2 separate regions of the Homo sapiens genome follow, and region 2 is linked to region 1. Evidence: promoter capture Hi-C in human tissues and cell types (Jung and others, 2019). All regions are on one chromosome and are shown on one strand. The core of a region is centred on a gene start or on the middle of the fragment in contact, and the rest is flanking DNA. Distances in the headings are between cores, read along the strand shown. Region 1 holds the start of TXNDC12 (thioredoxin domain containing 12). Region 2 has its middle 17 kb from the start of TUT4.

Region 1 (2,700 bases), core at 142-2,641:
GCTGGGGACCTTCCCACAGGTGCCGACCCCCAGCTGCGCCGCCGGTAACCGACAGGCCAAGCCAGCCGCCTCCGCCCCCGCTCGCCGCACCACGGCGGAAGTGGCAGCCTGAGCGGTTGGCGGGTGTCGGAAGGGGAGGGCGGGGGGAGACCGTGCGCAGCGGCCTATGGCCGTGAAGTGGCGGGACCGCCGGGGGTCTCACCTGAAGCAGGGAGGGTCCTCCAACACCAGCACGCGGCAAGAGAAAGATGGCTGCCTCAGCCGAGACAGAGAAAGACGACGGCGGCGGCGGCGGCGGCGGGAGCAGATCCACGTGATACAGCCGACCCCGCCTCTCCCTCTCCGGGGCAGCCTATCCCGGGAGCGAACATCTGAACTCCAACGCCCCGCCTGCTTTGCGCATCCCTCTTAGTGCTAGTGGCGGCAGGTGCAGGTGGCCGCGCGGCATCCTGGGGCTTGCAGTCTCCCGAGCGTTCTGTTGTGTCCCTGCCTACAATTTTAGGGAACCTAATAAAAGGGTGGTCGGTATGTTTTTATTTGGGTGTGTACTTTTGTTAGGTCGCTTTTTCGCTATGCATTAAGTACGGACTTTAGGACTCAACTAGTACCAGGAAGAAAAAGACCGGACATTTTCACCTGTTTGTTATACAGCGAAGGGGAAAAATTGGGAAGAAATCCTCAAGCTACAAGAAAAATAACCAGAAGCTTTACACTTTAGCCTGCAGTGACTTATATCCTGGTGTCCTAAGTCCACCTAAGTCAGTTTTGCAATAAGAGGTCCCAAGTTTGGTTTTCTTGGAGCTTGCATCAGTTGGTTGCATCATCCCTGAGTAGAAGATTTGCGGTTGCAAGGAAAAATAAGGTACAGAGCTTCTCCAGCGGGAAAGTGCATGTCTGCACGGCACGAGCCCACGCACCGCAGAACAGGCTTGCCAGGTCTCCTCAGAGACCCTCGCAGGAACCTAACAATGAAATCCAGTTGTCCAGTCTTGATTTGTGGAGGGGTAAGGAGAATCCGAGGCCAGTGGGCAATCCGCCCACTGTTGGGAGCGACTGACCTCACGAATCAATAATTTGCTTTTGACTAGGAAGTGCAGCGGTTCTTGGGGGGAGGGGCTGGACTGGGTGGCGGACGCGAGGAGCAACGGTTCTCCCGAACCTCTCCCCCGCCCCTACTATCTTGGCCTACATTTTCCCGCTCCGTCCCGGGACCTGGACACCCAGAATCCACGAAAAGCAACTCGCGCTCGAGAACAGCTCTCGTACCCTTCTACGTGATCTGCACCTTTAAGCTCACTCCATCCCAAACCGGACCCCGGAGGCACCACCCACATCCGTCTAACATCACTTCCTTCAGAGTTTGAAAAAAAAAAATCTGGGAAGTAGAGGTGTTGTGCTGAGCGGCGCTCGGCGAACTGTGTGGACCGTCTGCTGGGACTCCGGCCCTGCGTCCGCTCAGCCCCGTGGCCCCGCGCACCTACTGCCATGGAGACGCGGCCTCGTCTCGGGGCCACCTGTTTGCTGGGCTTCAGTTTCCTGCTCCTCGTCATCTCTTCTGATGGACATAATGGGCTTGGAAAGGGTCAGACCGCGTTCTTATCTTCTCTTTACTGATCTTTACTATACTGATCCCAGTATAATCTCTTCTTGCCCTAGCACCGTTCCCCTCCCATTCTAACTCTTAGGCCACTCCAGATTTCTTTTTATCTTCCCCAACCGCTCCTGGAGTTTGAAGATTTCTTGGGGTAGAGAGTAGCGGGTCTGGGGAATGGAGAAGTTGTACTTGAGGCCTCTCTAAATTATTGGATTGGGGGGAAGGAATGGCCCGTAAATTAAGGAAAGCATGTTAAGAGCCCAGCATAGTGCCTAGCACTTGGGAGGTCCTGAGGAACGGTCACCTTCCCACCTGGGAGAAATAGAGCCGTTGGGGACCTGCATATGCAGAGGACCCTGTTCTGGGTCTGAAGATTTCTCTCGTTACTTCTTCCGCGAAGAGCTAGGTTACTGCCACTTGCTTGCCTTTGGGAAACAGCACCTGCATCCCAGGTAGCTGTATCTAGTGCATAAGAAGAGCCAAGCGAATGGTAGAAGGTCTGCTGTTTAAGGGTCCCCAACAATTGTCCTTGCTGTGGTTCAGCGAAGTTTTTTTGTAAGTGAGCGATCAGTGGTTATGAATGGAGGTTAGGAGGTGTGGCCCCCTACTCCATCCATTACCTACATCTCCATTCTAAGTTTTAACACCTCTCTCCTCATCAGCCCTTACTTAGTTGAAAGTTGGACTGACAGTCTGTGAACTCAGAGTTTATGCTTTTCTAAGTAGATGAATTGTAGCATGGATCCCAACCCCTCTTCCTTTTTTTTTTTTCACTGACCTTACTGTATGGAATGATTCTGCTGCAATCCTTCTGTTTTTGTTTTCTCTTATCCTCTCTATTTTCACATCTATTGGTGAGTAATAAGATTGGGTGGGCATTCATTTTGCCTGAATGCAATCATTCCTTCATTCCGTAAATAATTTTTGATCACCTCCTATATTTCAGGCACTGTCCTAGGCACTAGGGATATAGCTGTAAACAGGACAGACAAGGTTCCTACTCTGGTGGAGCTTATATTCATGTCAGAGAGACAGAGTAGACTCATGAACAAATTAATAAGACAGTTTCAACTAGGAACAAGTGCTGGGAAAACAATAAGACTGTG
Region 2 (2,700 bases), core at 107-2,606, 510 kb before region 1:
GTTGTTTGGACTTAACTACTTAATAAAGAGAATTATTACTTTGGTTTTTTTGTAGGAGGAGTGGGCATGGAGAAGTCACCATGAAAAAATTACTGAGACACTAAAGGTGCCTTTGAGCTGAGAAAGTTTGGGAACCTCTGTCTTACACAGTTGGATCCTAGATTGCTCTGTTTTCTCCGCTTTTTTTGGTTGGTTTGCTTCTTTGCTACATCTCATCAGTACTGTTACCAATGCGCCCTCTCTATACTCACAGAGTACTTACAAATGCAGGCACCTCATATATATTAACTTATTTAATCTTTATGACCAACTGTGCAAAATAGCTATTATTATTATTCCCATTTTACAGATGAGGAAATTGAAGCTAAAAGGTTAAATACTTCAAAGTCATACAGTTAGGAAGCAGCAGCACAGGATTCAAAGACTCAGTTTGACTCCAGAATCTGTGCTTTTAACTATCTTATTCTGGCCTCCCAACCCCCACCCATTAATTGTTAATTTTGATCTGCTATAGACATGGAAACTAAATATCCAAGCTTGTTGGAACTACATGTAAAGCAAGAGCTGAAAGTCACTACTGGGAGAAAAGTGCATGAACTCTACAGTATGTGCGGTCTGCACAAGACTGAGCAGCATAAAATGCTCAAAAATAACTCCTTCCGGCCAGGCGCGGTGGCTCACGCCTGTAATCCCAGCACTTTGGGAGGCCGAGGCGGGCAGATCACCTGAGGTCAGGAGTTCGAGACCAGCCTGGCTAACATGGTGGAACTCTGTTTCTATTAAAAATGCAAAAAATTAGCCAGGCGATTTGGTGTGTGCCTGTAATCCCAGATACTCAGGAGGCTGAAACAGGAGAATTGCTTGAACCCAGGAGGCTGAGGTTGCAGTGAGCTGAGATCATGCCATTGCACTCCAGCCTGGGCGACAAGAGTAAAACTCCGTCTCCAAAACAAAACAAAACAAAACAAAACATAAAAAACCTCCTTCCCTCTGACTTCCCCAGCTGCTGTAGCCAGCAAAGGTGGGGGTGGGAGTGGGTGGATATTTATTGAATTACACAGGATGTCTCAGGCTCTCCATGTTTCTCCGGGGGTCATGTTTCTCCGAGGGTCCATGTTAAACTCGGGTCTTCCAACCAGCAAGTTACTGTTCTATGGAAACAAAAAAGTTTAAAATGCTCCCTTCACTGTAAGAGAGGACAAAAGTGGACAGAAAATGCAATACAGATACATGACAAAAACAGGATTACCTAGAGGTAGGCAGGCCCATATTAATTCACAAGGAGAAATGTCATTTCAGGGGCAATAGGAAATAAGAAGCGGAAGTTTTGCAGACCTACTGGAGAAAGCAAACTTCCTCAGAAACAAGATTAAGACTGTACTTAAAGTGAACCTTGAGCATATACAACCATGGTGACTTAGATGAATATCCTGGACAGAAAAGAATCAGCAGAATTTGGATAGTGGAAGAAGGAAAGTTCAGCTCAGATCAGAGGAACTCGTATTGGTTAAGAGGTTTCCCTAACTTTCTAGGGAGGAGGAACTGAAAGTTTAAAACAGAACCTACTAAGCCACCTTTGGAGATCTTTATACAGATTTCTGCATAAATCAATCAATGGGTAGTAAACTGTATGCTTTCATTTCAGACTTGGGTTCAACCTTTCTCAGTGAAAGATTTTCTTTTTTTTTTTTTTGAGATGTAGTCTCACTCTGTCACCCAGGCTGGAGTGCCATGGCGCGATCTCAGCTCACTGCAACCTCTGCCTCCTGGGTTCAAGCGATTCTCCTGCCTCAGCCTCCCAAGTAGCTGGGATTACAGGTGCCTGCCACCACACCCGTGTAATTTTTCTATTTTTAGTAGAGATGGGGTTTCACCATGTTGTCCAGGCTGGTCTTGAACTCTTGACCTCAGATGATCTGCGCCCCTTGGCCTCCCAAAGTGCTGGGATTACAGGTGTGAGCCACTGCGCCTGGCCTCAGTGAAAGATTTTTCATAAAAAGCTCACAAAAACTTTTTGTGAAGAATCCCCCTATGTGGTGATTTCTAGATAGCAACCTGGATGGCCAGACCCCACCTGATGTGCAGTCAAAATTCTGATTCCCAGAATGGACAAAATGAGAGGAAATCCTTTTTTAGTCTGAGTGTAATATACAAACTTCCTGACAATGCTGAGGATGTTCAGAGTGCTTGCTTATGAAACTGCTTGAGAGCTGGATTCTGGATAGGTGGCATTTATAGCAACATTATGTCCCAGATTTCCGAGGACAGCCCAGATTTCAAATATCCTATCTTATTGTAATTATAAGTAGGCTTAGACTTCTGCTCTTATGTATCCTGATTTGGATAGAATGAGGAAAATATGGGCATAATATAAGTGATCCTTTCGTGGAGTGTATGATGAGGATAAATACCAGAAGGAAGTCATGGTGGGGTCTAGAAGTATTAACAGTGGTCTACTAAGATTATTCCTTGGTAACATGGTGTGAAAAAAAAAAAGCTATATTTGGCGTGAAACAGGCAGAAAGAAACTCCTGCAAATTCAGGGATGGCATGTGTGCCATTTGAAGAGAATAGAAGAGCCCAGGGGTGAGAAGTTTGGGGACAAAAAAAGAGGCTACTCCTAGGAAAGGTCAGCTGTGTCCCCTTGAGAGAGGAGGAAAGGACTAAAAGTCTGAGACAATCCGGCGGGGTCGGGGTGGG

The links. The method cuts DNA at HindIII sites, captures the fragments that hold promoters and counts their contacts. A contact is called where the count stands out against the background at its distance.
Region 2: a contact is called between a fragment that was not itself captured here and the fragment with the promoter of TXNDC12 in region 1, in 1 of the 25 tissues and cell types used here (dorsolateral prefrontal cortex).

The regions. Positions count from the first base shown.
Region 1 is chr1:52,053,882-52,056,581 of GRCh38, reverse strand. It overlaps TXNDC12 (thioredoxin domain containing 12), which reads left to right and starts at 1,391. Exons shown (of 7, transcript NM_015913.4): 1 at 1,391-1,582. The coding sequence starts at 1,486. It overlaps BTF3L4 (basic transcription factor 3 like 4), which reads right to left and starts at 287. Exons shown (of 6, transcript NM_152265.5): 1 at 203-287. RefSeq lists enhancers at 1-83, 84-797 and silencers at 1-102, 963-1,367. The HindIII fragment of the contact is 4,769 bases long and covers 1-1,739 here.
Region 2 is chr1:52,568,386-52,571,085 of GRCh38, reverse strand. No RefSeq gene overlaps it. Among named protein-coding and RNA genes, the nearest start is that of TUT4, 17 kb to the right of the region's middle. The HindIII fragment of the contact is 3,672 bases long and covers 1-2,700 here.